Regions from separate parts of the Homo sapiens genome. Here regions 2, 3, 4 and 5 are each linked to region 1. The links are contacts of gene promoters, found by promoter capture Hi-C in human tissues and cell types (Jung and others, 2019). All regions are on one chromosome and are shown on one strand. Each heading gives the region's core, a stretch centred on a gene start or on the middle of the fragment in contact. The rest is flanking DNA. Distances are from core to core; before and after follow the strand shown.

What was found. The method cuts DNA at HindIII sites, captures the fragments that hold promoters and counts their contacts. A contact is called where the count stands out against the background at its distance.
Region 2: a fragment that was not itself captured here is called in contact with the fragment with the promoter of GDF6 in region 1 in 1 of the 25 tissues and cell types used here (lymphoblastoid cells).
Region 3: a contact is called between a fragment that was not itself captured here and the fragment with the promoter of GDF6 in region 1, in 1 of the 25 tissues and cell types used here (dorsolateral prefrontal cortex).
Region 4: a fragment that was not itself captured here is called in contact with the fragment with the promoter of GDF6 in region 1 in 1 of the 25 tissues and cell types used here (lymphoblastoid cells).
Region 5: a fragment that was not itself captured here is called in contact with the fragment with the promoter of GDF6 in region 1 in 2 of the 25 tissues and cell types used here (lymphoblastoid cells and mesenchymal stem cells).

Annotation. Positions count from the first base shown.
Region 1 is chr8:96,159,437-96,162,163 of GRCh38, forward strand. GDF6 (growth differentiation factor 6) reads right to left here and starts at 1,370. Exons shown (of 2, transcript NM_001001557.4): 1 at 851-1,370. The coding sequence starts at 1,256. The HindIII fragment of the contact is 22,921 bases long and covers 1-2,727 here.
Region 2 is chr8:95,234,984-95,237,710 of GRCh38, forward strand. No RefSeq gene overlaps it. Among named protein-coding and RNA genes, the nearest start is that of LINC01298, 20 kb to the left of the region's middle. The HindIII fragment of the contact is 6,913 bases long and covers 1-2,727 here.
Region 3 is chr8:95,403,359-95,406,085 of GRCh38, forward strand. All of the region lies in intron 2 of CFAP418-AS1 (CFAP418 antisense RNA 1), which reads left to right. Among named protein-coding and RNA genes, the nearest start is that of TRS-AGA2-5, 130 kb to the left of the region's middle. The HindIII fragment of the contact is 3,195 bases long and covers 1-2,727 here.
Region 4 is chr8:95,438,798-95,441,524 of GRCh38, forward strand. The region is part of intron 2 of CFAP418-AS1 (CFAP418 antisense RNA 1); the gene reads left to right. Among named protein-coding and RNA genes, the nearest start is that of TRS-AGA2-5, 170 kb to the left of the region's middle. The HindIII fragment of the contact is 3,815 bases long and covers 1-2,727 here.
Region 5 is chr8:95,529,155-95,531,881 of GRCh38, forward strand. The region is part of intron 2 of CFAP418-AS1 (CFAP418 antisense RNA 1); the gene reads left to right. Among named protein-coding and RNA genes, the nearest start is that of TRS-AGA2-5, 260 kb to the left of the region's middle. The HindIII fragment of the contact is 6,368 bases long and covers 1-2,727 here.

The DNA.
Region 1 (2,727 bases), core at 120-2,619:
AGGCGTTCCCACAGAGGGTACCAGGGATTTCCCAGACCCCCACCAGCCCTCAGGAATAGCGTAGAGAGAGGAACGTCGCCTGGCTGAGAAAGGTGGATGGGCATACCCATGTACCTTTGTGTATTAAGTACCCACAACCTCCGAACTTAGCCGTCCCTGTCCCGGCCCGCCCAACTGCTGCCGCCGCATCTGCAGAAACCACTCGTGTTGAGGCCTCGGAGCAGCCGGGAGCACCACGCTGGAGCAAAAAAGCCGGAGGGCGCAGGGCTCCAGCCCGGCTGACCATCCCACCCAGCGCAGGGACCAACGGAAAACCCGCGCGGCGCCAGGACCAGGGGGCTGCCCGACGCCGCTCGCGGACTAGTTCCTCAGACTGTGGGACTCCCTAGTGCCGGCTTTGCCCAGGGCTTTCCAAGGCTGTCTCATGCCCTAGATCTGCCCCAGCAGCTCAGGCCTTGGACTGCGAACCCAGTATCCCGAGACACCGATTCCATCAGTCCCCATCCCGACCCCTCTCCAGCCGGGTTCATCCGCCTGCTGCCTCCCGTCCTCCACGTTTCCCCCACCAGCCACCAACAAGCGGCAACCACGCTGCCTTCTGCAAAAGAGGAAGAAGGAAAGAAGGGAGAGAGAAAGAAAGGGGGGGAAAGGAAGGGAGGTTTAGAGACTGGAATAGAATCCGCAGCCACATTCAGAAACTTACTCGAGCTTGAGAAAAACAATTTAAGAAAAGTAAAAAGGAAGTGTCCAGAGCAGGAAGGGAATTCACAAATGTAGCCTCCAGCGGGAACAGCTCCCTGGCTGCCGAGCTCCAGCGGGAGGGGAGTCGAGCGTTTTCTTTGCCACTTACCTAGTCCCCTGTCTACAAAGCTGGTGATCGTATTAGCCGACTTGGAAGACTGGAAAAAGCTGGCATTGATGCCCAGCTTCTCAGCGATGGAGTAAGTCCTGTAGATTGACAGCATGTACTCGTGGGGCACCACGCGCGGACCCCTGCCTGGCGGCTCCTGCGCCCGGGGCTGCTGAGCCCGGGGTTCGTCCTGAGGCCGCGGCTGTGGTTCCTGGCCCTCCCGGCCCGCGTCACTGTCGCGCGGCGCCCGCTGCATCTTGCCTTCCTTGCGGCTTCGCATGCCCTTGGTGGAACCCAGCTCGGCGGACGACGAGGAGGATGAGATGGAAGCCTGCTGGAAACCGGGCAAATCCCACAGAAAACTGATGAGGAAGACGGCCGAGAGCAGGACCCTGGGAGTATCCATGGCGGGCAAGTGGCTGCGTCTCCCCAGGAGGCGGTGGCGGCGGCGCAGGACGCGCGGGGCACGGAGCGGCTGGACAGCGGCCGGGGCCCGGCTCCTCGGGCGGACTCGGAGTGCGAGGAGCCGGGTCCCAGCCACACAAACCCCGGCCCCGCCACGCCCCCTCCCGCCCCTCGCCGGGAGGGGAGGAATGGGGAGGGAGGGCAGAGGAGGGGTGGGGAGGGTGGGAGGAGAGCCGGGTGGTGCGGGCCGGAGGTGTGGGGGAGAGGGGCCGCGGTGCGCCGGTGTGGCAGGAAGACGCAGCGCCCCCGCGGGACGCGCGCGGGGTTGCCGGGCGGTGCGCGCGGCGCGGGCCGCAAGCGCTGACCGGGGGAAGGCGGGCGCTGCCGGCCCGTGGCCGGGGAGCAAAGGCTGGCCCGCCGCGCCAGGGTCCCCCTCGAACTCCCGGAGGTGTGGTCCCTCCGCAGCGCGGCCCCGGCTCTCGGTCCTCGCCAGCCGCCTCCACTTTCCTGGGAGCGAGCGGCCCCGGAGGAGGGAAGCGGCGGCGGCGCCCCCAAGAGACAGCTTGGAGCAGGCGCCTCTGCTGCAGGCTGCGTGCTGCCTCGGGGCGGTGGTACCCTCCCTCCTCGGCCCCAACCGCCAGGCCTGCCGTTTGCGCCCCTCAGGGGCCAGCCCGGAGCCAGAGAAGCCTCGCCCTGGGCCAGGCGCAGGGCCCAGCTCGGAACAGCCCCATTTTCTCGGTTGGGTATCGCTCTCCACAAAGACAGGCGTCTATTCCCGACCCTCGAGGTCAGGCAAAGGCCACGAGTCTTTAGAGTTTGGATCGATGCTAAAAGCTGCTGCGCTCCCCTGCAGGCCCCAGCCTCTCCTCTCGCAGTCCCCAACCTCTTCTGACGCAGACTTTAGCTGCTCCACTTCTTCGTCTGCTCCCGGGATCCTCTCCCTCTCGCGGCCTGCCCCCCGCCTCCACTGCATCCCCATTTTCCCTCTCTTCTTTCCCTCCCGCCTGCAGGACTTCCTCCTTCCCCAAGTTCCTTCTGCATTCCAATCCCTCTTCCCCAGCCTGCTTTTCTTCTCACACTGCCCTCCCATCTCACACTGCCTTCCCACCCTCTCTCTTCCCGGCCTCCCCCCTCGCCTTCCAGTGGACCCCTCCCTTTGCAGCTCTACCCCAATCTGTTTCTCTTCAGCCCAGCCTCGCCCCATCACGAGTTTCCTTTATCTGTCCCCAGATTCCCCGTGCCTGTCTTCCCCGCCCACTGCCTCGCTCATTCCTGGGCCTGCACGCTGAAAGGCGATGCGGCGTAGCGCTGCTTCTGTCTGCCACAGTGCTCTGCCCTGGACTGCTATGGGCAGAAGAGTTTCCCTCAGTACTGATTGGGTGCTCAGGCACCAACCATAAAGTACCCTCCTTTAATCGTGCCAACAGCTTTGTGAGGTTGGCGTTGACTATTTTCACCTTCACGGATGGAAA
Region 2 (2,727 bases), core at 113-2,612, 920 kb before region 1:
ATCACTGTACTCTGGAAATATTTGTGCTGAACAATCATGCTCAAAGGTCATGAAGATATGGTTTCCTGGTCTCAAAAAGCCCATCAGCATTAACCCACTTGCCCTTGCGATTTCCTCTCTCTGCTCACCAAGGTCGTTACCTCGATTTTCAACCTTTCATTGTGAGTGAGGAATCATTTCATTGTTTCTCTTTAACTTTAGATCCACTTAGATTCCTTTAAGTGCTACGGAATTGATTATTTAAGTGAATCAGTTAGAAGGTTCCAATTTTTCTTTCCCAGAAAGAAAGCTCAAGCCCACAAGCTTACGCTCAAGCTCAAGCTCACAAGCTCAAGATGACAAGTGCTTCTGTGTAGAAAGGGCTGGTAAACTTCCCTGGAAAGATCCTAATATTTGGTGCCTATCCTTTTCTCCTAAAAGCAAAGACAGGGGGTTTACGCTAGGGAGGATTTCTATTTTCAGCCAGAGAAAAACATTTACCTCCACCACTATGGGATATTGTTAACAGCAGGCAGATTTGGATGAAGTGTTCTGGGTGCTTTTCCTGAGAGACCAAAGCCCAACAAAGAAATGAGATCTGGTCCTCAGTGTAGGTCTGCCCGCTATGGGTTAGATTCTCAACTTGTTTCACTGTTTGGAGGGCTCAGGATGGTGGGTCTTTTACAACCCTGAGTCCCTGGAGACAAATTTGTCTCTTTCTTCTTCGCTGTAAGTCACTAACTCTACCCCTGGAAAGGCTGCTTCAGGACCTCCCTCCTTTGCTGGGTCCCTCAGGCCTGAGAAACAGCCAGAGTTGGGTTCAGAATGTGACTTGATGACGCAACAGCCGACCTGAAGTTGCAGTAAGAATTATAGACCATAAAAGAGACGTTTAACTGAATTGCTTTTTTCCCCCTATCTGGAAGCAGTATGTTTCCAGCACAAGCATTGACACATAGGTTAGCAGTTTCCATTTTGGTCACATTACAATCAATGATGAGCAACAGGGGGATGGCCACTGTTGAATTTCACTCAGTTGTGAAACAGCCTAAACACACGGACTATGCCTGTAGTACTTGATGTCTGGTACTGAGCAGAGTCAAAGACACCTTACGTAAAAGACCAATGATTACAATGCCTTAGGAAATGACCCATGTTTTGCCAACCCTTGCTCCTGTCTGGTGTCTGGCACCTCTGGGTCCACTGCCATGCCTAGCACAGTGCAGGTGGGCATTTAAGTGAAATGGTCCTCGCTTTGAAGGCTCTCTTTAAATCTGTCACTTTGAGCCTCCTGTTGTAAGATGAAAGTTGGTGGGAATTAAACATTTTAAGGCAAAAAAAGAAGAATGTTGAAGGAAAAAACCTATGTAGAATCATGGCAGAAAGCCATCTTTAAGGTATGCATTTTTACATTGTACAGAGATCTCAGCAAATAATTCACACGTATTAAGTAATTACTATGTGCCAGGAGCCTCGCTAAATGCTCTACATAGATTATCCCATCCACTTCCTCCCAGCATCACTCTCTGTGAGGTGAGCATTCTTAACCCTGTTGCACAGGCTGGGGAGAAGAGGCTTAGGGAGGATGCGTGGCCTGTAGAACATCACATGCCACATAAGGTATAGGGCCAGTATTCAAATCAAGGCAGTCTAACCCCAGGCCTGTGCTCATAACCTCACACAATGCAGCAGCCTGTTAATGTGAGACTCTGCTTATTAACAGGGGCAAAGGCAAGAAGTGGCCTGGAGCTCCTTTGCCGAGGACGTGGTGCTGAGCATCATGAGTGCACACATTATCTGTGCCTTCAAGGTTGGGGGCAGGGTCATGGGCCATGCAAATCCTTTCCTTCTCACTCCCTTGATTTATCACTGGACCTAGGCTATTTCAGAATAAATTTGTGCTAGTAACCGAATACAATACCTAAAACTGTTCCTTAAAATCTGAGTGGAAAGAGTGGAAAGAAGTCCTTTAGTGCATAGTCAGCTGTGGAGGAAAACCAAGGCCAGATGGAAGGGACTTGAAAAGCGTTTGTGGGGTCCTTCCACCACCAGAGGCTGAGGCTATAGCTATTTATGATAGAATATACCTTACTCCATGGGGAAAACTCTTGTCTAATCCCCCATCCCTCAAAAAATTATGTAAGGATAAAACATTATATTCTTTGAGAGATCTTTTACAATTTTTCCTACATACCTGTGAATGTCAATTTTACTTGACTCTAAGAACTTAAAATGGTTTCTATGTTATGTACTTTCTTTATTTTTTCCATCCACTTTCTAGAGTCCTGCTTTCTATCTAACATTGCTAATAAGTGCTGCTCTTTGCAATGGAAGATGGTGCCAGTGACTCACTTTCTAGAGGGCCACGCACTCTAAGATACTTCTCCTAGTGGGAGGAATTGGTATTGTCAACCTTTGGAGGCTGTTACTTTTTTCTGTGTAAAGTGAATTGGTCATTAGGGAACTCAAACCTTGAAGTTGGCATTGACTGTTTCTAGGGGACTAAAAGAAACATTGATCATAATACACACTCAACCTAAATGAAATAATCTTTTCTGAATGATTACATTATGAAAAGAGATTCATGGAACTTTTATTCTGGGAGGGACATTAAAAATCACTTAGTATAACCTCATATTTTTATACTGGCAGTAAGGACTCTTAGAGAATTGTTTTTTAATAGGTGAGGATACTAAAGCCCAAAGAGGGAAGTGATATGCCCAAGGTCTTATTGCTGTTAGTGGATTG
Region 3 (2,727 bases), core at 107-2,606, 760 kb before region 1:
CTGACAGAGGCAGGCGGACCAGCTGAGTACAGCTCTGTTGCCTCCAGCACAGGACTCCAGTGAGCAGGGCAATGAGGAACATCTCAGCAGAGGATAGCCTGGACCTAGGTCTGCAGGGCCCCCTTCACTGCTGGGGGAAATGCTGGCACTTCATGGGAATGAGGAGAGGGAGAAAGACCTCTCAAGAGGGAAGAAGCTGTCCTCACATGGAGTTTAAACTTTGAGTGGTTTTAATTGGCTGCTTTGAATATTTTTGTTTTTCTGCCATCAGCAGATGTGGGGGCTCAAAAAAAGTAGAGTCGTTATAACAAAATAAAAGACTTTTTTTTTTTTTTTTTTTTTTTTTGCAATATCTGAATCACAGTGTGTACTTTTCAAGTCTCCCCATGCATGCACATATGTGCATGCATTCACACACAATATAGAATCATATGTAGTACTTCTGCAGATCTAAGAGATTGCTGGCTATTAAAAGATGCAAGCATTTTGAACTGGGAGGAGATAAGAAGAGAAAGGGCCAAGTGATCCAGTTCTAAGTGTCATCTTTTATCATGAAGACAATAAAATCTTGAGTTTATGTTCACTTCAAACAAAAATCATATGTAGTACTTTGGGAGTTGGAGACAAGGAAGAAGAAGGAATTCAAGATGACACTGAAGTGCCAAGTCTGAATGATTAGACCAGGGACAATGTCAAATATCTATAACATGAATAGGTAAGGGGTGTGGTGGATAAAGCTTGTTTGCCACAGATTGAAGGTAGCCAATTCTTCCACTCTGGAGGTAATCATTGGAGATACTCCTTTTGGACCCACCTTGCTCTGGGCTGCCTCGTCTCTGGCTAGAGTGGGTCTGTCTTCTTGTTGGCACTTATTTAGCTGGTTGGGGTCTGGAAGAGAACACAGTGTAATCAGACTGTGCCTCCATGGCCTAACCACCTCTTTCAATGAGCAAAAGTATAGTCAAATTAGTTTTTGTTACCAGTAGCAACTACAAAATAAACTGTAAATTTTTGATGTTAGTGTTAATTTAGCCTTGAACTTCATTGTAGAATTAAATTTAAAGTTTAGCATCTAAGAATCTTAGGATTAGAAGAAACCTTAGAGGCAATTAAATCCAACTTCAGCCCTACATAAAAATTCAAAGAAACACCTTGGTGTTTTATCAACAAGACAAGTTCCTTAGGGGGAGGGACTGTGCTTTACTTATTTTTGAATTCCCCATGCATTGTACAATGCCTGGAACATTGTAGGTGCTCCTTAAATGTTTCAGTGCTTGTCCAATATGCTTGTTAGTTGGTAATAAGCAAACCGGCATATTTTAGAATAAGTAATCTAAGTTTCCAAATCTAGAGTTTTGTTCACTGTAGACTACAGACAAGTTTAGCAGATGCTAAACCACAGGTTCTAGCTTACATGCTAGAAACATCTAAGTCAATGACGGTGATGGAGATGTCAGGACTCTGCAAACATTAAACATCTGGCTTTCTATGCTGACATACAGAATTAGGAATTAAAGCACTTTGTTTAAAAATATTTAAAAAACCCTTCAAGACTGGGAAAAGACACCCTTCTTTATAGCCAGGCAGACTAAAGACAATTGTGACGTATTGACATGTTTTTAACATTAATACTGGTTTTTTTTTTTTTTGTTTTTTTTTTTCTCTTGAGACAGAGTCTCGCTCTATCGCCCAGGTTAGAGTGCGGTGGCATGATCTTGGCTCACTGCAACCTCCATCTCCCGGGTTCAAGCAATTCTCATGCCTCAGCTTCCCAACTAGCTGGGATTATAGGAGCCTGCTACCATGCCCGGCTAACTTTTTTTTTTTTTTTTTTGTATTTATAGTAGGGATGGGGTTTCACCATATTGGCCAGGCTGGTCTTGAACTCCTGGTTTCAAGTGATCCGCCTGCCTCCTCCCAGAGTGCTGGCGTGGGCCACCGCACCCGGCCAACATTAATACTTTTCATGTTGAAAATATAGATTTCACATCTGGGAACAAAGAAAAAAAACAGAAGAATTTCTCCCCTAGGGATCAGCAATATCCCATCTGAAAGGACAAATCTAGTATGCTGGTTGGGTAAGCATAATTACAGCAGTGGCAGGACCTGGAGACTTTCTGATAGGAAGAGTCACAGCAGGGAATGAAGCCAAATAATAAAATAAAAAAACTTTCCAAAATGATGAGGGCCCAGGTTGTTACATCTCCATGACAACAGAAAATGCAATATTTACACCCTTATTTACCCTTCTATTCAACCAAAAAAATGCATGGCATTTGCCATGGTAACGCCTACATCATATATGCATGTATCACTTCAGATATGTGGCCTGCTATTCTAAAAACAACAAACACATACCAAGACATGAGCGTCATGTGAAACCTCTACTCATTTTACAATGTTTTGATGGAAAAATATGTCCCGCTGGACGTTAACATCTTTTTTTCTCAAGGACTGTGTTCCAGTTTCAGTGGCAGAAAACCCAGGTGTCCTTCTGCTTCTTTCTCTGCCTCCAGAGTCACAGTGAGAGCCATGTCGATGTGTCATTGTGAGTGGTCGGGGGAGGAAGTTTGGGCTAAGAGTGTCAGCCATAGGACAGGTGAGAGGGGGTTATGGTTTTGACAGGACAGGGAAGGTGGCTCTGTAACACAGGAGAGAGCTGTCTGTATCCCCAGAGTGATTTGAAAAGCCTCGATAATCCTTTTTTCCCCTGAAGCTTTCTTCCGT
Region 4 (2,727 bases), core at 140-2,639, 720 kb before region 1:
CATCACCACGGATTTATCAATTTCCAAATGCACCTGTAAAAATTGGTTAGACCAATGGAGGCACCAGCAGAAAGAGTCTTGGGAATGTCAGCTCTGGGGTGTGCCATGAGCACAGTTGCAGGCAAATAGCCTTCAGCTATTTGGGGTAATTGCATGAAAGAGCCTCGCATCTAAGGAAAAGTAATCAAGATCTACTGTGAACTGGGTGAAACTACTTGGCTTATTAATAGTCAAGCATCCTATGTACCAGCTTCCTTTTGTACATTCTCTTTATAGAACCCATGCACAATCAGTATTTTAATCCCCATTATACAGATGACACAGCTCAGAGAGGCCAAGTCCTTGCTCAAAATCTCTTTACAAAAATTTTCTAGGCACTCCAAATCTAGAGAAGGAATGCCTTCCAATTCATTGTCATTATTTTAGCTTACCACAAATTTGAGTTTAAATGAGTCATTTTTAAGGTTTAGGTGGAGCCAGGGAACATCAGTGGCATATGCTATTTTTCTGCCAGTTCCCTTTCTTCCCTCTCATTTGCCAGGCGTCCACTCGGAAAGGGCTTTCCAGGGCTCCAGTGTTGGTGGCCCAGCTTTTGCAGGAGAACCTACGACATCATGTGATTTTCTGGTCACCTTGGCTCTGGGGAAGGTGCAGGCTCTTCCCAGGGCCTGCTTTGTGTCTCTGTAGTGGTGATGACGAGAGCACTAAGCTCCATTGGATGACAGGACATGCTGGCTTTGGTTTTGCCCCAGCATTGGCAAGTTGAGCACATTCCTTTTTGACCCTCCTAGAGCTGCTGTGTGGGGCAGTCAGGCAGAATCACACCATTGGGGTGGATCTAGGGGGATGGAGTGTGGAATGTGCTGAGCTCTGTCTTCCTTGCCAACTAGGAATGGGAAGACTGGAGGATTGCTGGAGGGAGGGCAGGGGTCTTCATGGAGGTGGGCAAGATGGGAGCCAGGGCCCAGTGCAGTGCAGGAGGCCTCCGGGGGAGTCATTTCTCAGGCACATGAAGGGGATGTTCTCAGAACCGCACTTGGCAGGGACTGTCTCTTCATTTGATCTTACCACATGGCAGTCTTGGTCTCCAGGGCCATACATAGCTAACGAGGAACACTTGTCTGGCATTCACATTTACAAATAACTTTCCTGTGCAAGATCTGAGGATGGTGAATCTTGAGGGGATCTGATCCAATCTCTCCATGGCTGTTTTGCTTCCACATTTTAGCAATCACTGATTCCAGTGCCTACTATGTGCAACAATAATGGGAAACACAAGCATTCGGATTGCATTTTTCGTTCAACATATTTCTGACTTCCATTATCCAATTTTATCCTATATCCCATCCTGTGAGATTGGATCTTATGCCCTCATTTTTTTCAGATGAGAAAATTAAAGCTTAGGGGGCAAATTAACATGTACTAGTTTGTTAAGCTGTGGACACTAATAATATGATCTACCATAGTAGTAATACTACTGTAAGTGCTTACATTCACTTAATTCTCAGAGCATTATTATTCTCAGTTGACATGTGCAAAACCTGAGGTGCAAAGTGACTAACAACTTGCCCAAGATCATATAGTCAATAAGAAGAGGGAGGATGTGAATTTAGACAACCTGGCTCCATAGACTAGTTTCAACCACTGTGCTATCCGACAGAGTAGGGCTCAATGCCAGGGCTCAGTTCCATACTGTTCTTTCCTCTCTACCGTGCTACCTTTCTATGCCAAATGATCTGGAATATATAAAGGAAAATGACATTGTTCTTGCTTATAGTCTTTTGAGGGGAAAGGTGTGCAACAGTTGACTCTTCAGGGTGAAAACACTAAATGCTAAGCTGAGGTCAAGGGGAACTCTAGGGAACCCTGAGGAATGGCCCAGGAGACCTAGACCTCATAGCCTCCATAGCCCCTTCCCTGCTGATCCTTTTCATACTGGCCTGGCCAGTCCTAATTTCTCTCTGAAATAGAGTAGCCTTCACAGTTGTCCTGGGTTGGTCATTTTGACCTCATATTTAGGGGTTTGGGGTAATTTCTCTAGGAAGTTTCTCCCTATATGCAGCATGACCAATAAGTGTAGAGGTCACCAGCAAGCAAATTGCTCAAAAGAAGTATCACAAACTGTCCTGTACCAAATGCTCTACTTCCTGAAGATGGAGACCCTTTGGGCGCCTGGCTGGTTCTCACCAACTTGGAAGGATCATGTGTTGCTGCCTCTGTTGGGTGCTGCCATTTATAATCTTGAACTGAACCCAGCACATCATGGCTACTTTCTCCCAGCTGTGAGCCCAGTTCAGTCTTGCTATACTTCTGGGGTTGATGGTGCAATTAGAGATGTCGTTTAGTTACCATCACCACCATAATTTTGCCAGAATACCTACAGTTTGGTTGCTTTGATAATCATTTCCTGCTAGCTCTGAAAGTATATCTAGGCCCCCCTGTTGGGGTTCTTGCCTGCTCTTTCCTTGCCCACCCCAAGTATACGTCTTTGTCATCATAGCTTGAAACTTCTGGAACTCTGGCCGATTAATGCCTGGTATGGGTATTTAGGAGACATGCATTTGTTTAGTTCAGGCTTTAAATTAGCCAGGAACCACCCCCTCAAATTGACTTAGAATTTGTTTGACTATTTGATGTTTGGGGAACAAGTTATACGGAAGTTGGTGTCTCACTCACCAACAAGGATCTCAGATAGTCTTGCTTTGTGGTTTATAGTGAGAAGGTGAT
Region 5 (2,727 bases), core at 128-2,627, 630 kb before region 1:
GGAATAACAGTTCAAAACATGCATGTACATAAAAGCATAACTTTAAATCATATAAAAAATGCTGAACAATGAGGATACATATTCTTAAAACCACCATCATTATAAGCAATATTAAAATAACGCTTACCAACTGATAACTCAAACAGAAAAATTAATTAGGATAAAGAACATTTACCCAACACAGTCATCAGACTTGATACTTTGACTCCAATACCAAGCCATTAGAGAAAAATTATCCTTTTCAAGCATCCACCGAACATTTATGAAAACTGACTAGTTACTGCAATATGTCTGATTAAATTTTATAGAACTGTTATGCAGACTGTATTCTCTGATCACAATGCAACTAAGTTAGAAATATACTACAAAAAGATTAATGAAGTACAATCACACGTTTTAAAATTTAAAGACAAAATAGCTCATGGGTCAAAGAAAAATAAAAATGAAATGTGGAAAATAGAATGGAATAAAAAGGAAAATATTATGTATCAGATTTATTCAATGCAGATAAAGCAGTACTTATATATTTATACAGTTGAACCTTGAACAACATGGGGGTTATGGGTGTCAACTCCTTCCACAGTAGAAAATCAGTGTACAACTTTTGACTGTTCCAAAACTCAATTACTAATAGCTTATGTTGTCTGGAAGCTTTAATAACATAAACAGTCTATAAACACATATTCTGCATGTCATATGTGTTATATACTGTATTCTTACAATAAGCTAGAGAAAAGAAAATGCTATTAAGAAAATCATAAGGAAGACGAAATATAGTTACTCCTCATTAACTGGAAGTGGATTATCATAAATGTCTTCATTCTTGTCATCTTCACGTTGAGTAGGCTGAGGAGGAAGAGACGGAAAAGATGAGGGGTTACTCTTACTATCTCAGGAATGGCATAGGCAGAAGAAGTGGAGAAGGTGGAAGGGGAGGCAGGAGAGACAGGCATGCTCGATGTAACTTTATGGAAATACATCATAATTTCTATCTGACTTATTTTTTTCATTTCTCTAAAAATGTTCCTATGTAGTACCAATCCTTCTTCCACTGTTTGCTTTAGCTTCAGTGCCCATATCATAGAAGGGTCAATATTGTAAAGGAAGTCAAAAACAGCCTTGAATCATTGAAACCCTTCTTTCTGCCAGTTTGTTTAATATTAATTTGTTTTCTGGCACTGCTTCTTCTATGTCTTCTTCCTGCTCTTCTGGCACTGGTTTTGAAACACTCGTCTCCATTAAGTCATCTTCTGTTAATTTCTCTGGTGTGGTATCTGTTAGCTCTTGTATTTCTCCAAGACCTGTATCTTGAAACCCTTCAGGCCCTGCCTTTCTCGCCCTATCCACAATCTTTTTCATTGTTTCCTTGATTGGCTCCATTATAAGTTCTGTGAAGTCATGCACAAGATCTGGACACAGTCTTTTCCAGCAGGAATTTATTGTTTCAGGCTTGATGACATTCACAGCTTTTTCCATTATATAAGAACAATGACATTTTCATCATCATTGGTGTAATCTTTCTAGACTTCATGATGTTCTCTCTATCAGGGGTTTTTCCATAGCATTGACAATTCTTTTTTTTTTCTTTATTATACTTTAAGTTTTAGGGTACATGTATTCTTTTCATAGAGTACTGCGTGTGATGAGCCTTAAAGGTCCATATGACGTCAGATCTAGAGGCTGAATTAGGGACCTTATGTTTGGGAGCAAGTAGACCACTTCAGTGCCTTCAATGTTGAACTCATGGGGTTCTGGGTGGCCAAGGACATTGTCTCATATGAAAAGAACTTTAAAAGTCAGTCCCTTTCTGGCAAGGTACTTCCTGACTTCAGGGACAAAACATCAGTGGAACCAATCCAGAAAAAGTGTTCTTGTTATTCAGACCTTCTTGTGCAACTAAAAGCCTGGCAGGTGGTGTTTATCTTTCCCATTCAAAGCCCAGAGATTAGCAGATTCAGAGATAAGGGCAGTCCTGATTATAAACCTACTGCATTTGCACAAAATGGCAGTTATCCTATCTCTTCCTGCCTTAAATCCTGGTGCTTGCTTCTCTTCCTTAGCAATAAATGTCTTTGATTGCTTTTTTTTTTTTTTCCCCCAGAATAAGCTGCTTTTACCTGTGTTAGAAACCTGTTTAGATAGATGTCCTTTCTCCTCAATGATTGACAATTCTTTTCATAGGGTACTGGGTGTGATGTCCTTTCTCCTTAATGATTTCCTTAATGGTGCCTGGGAACTCACGTCTGCCATTGCGCCCAGCCTCTCCTGTTATATTGACAGTTTTTAAGTCAAATCTCTTCCTAAAATTATCAAACCATCCTTTGCTGGCATTAAATTCTCTAGGTTTAGATCCTTCACCTTCCTTTTGCTTTCAGTTGTCACATAATGACTTTGTTTTTCTAGAATCGTATTAGAATCTATAGGTATGCCTTTCTTATAGAAATCCTGTAACCATATAAAAGCTACATTTTTAATATGAGATAAAAAGGTATTTTGCAAAAAGTACAAGGTTTTTGTGCTGGCTGGTGTAGCTGCAGTGATAGATTAGTGAATTTCCTTTTCTTTGTTTTATTGTGGTTCTTACGCTGGATTCATTTATCTTGAAATGGTAGGCAACAGCAGCTGCAGACCTTAATCTACAGTACATATGAAGCAATTCAACTTTTTCTTCTAACATCGTGACTTTTCTCTGCTTTTTGGGAGGACTTTTCAGCATCGCTAGTGACA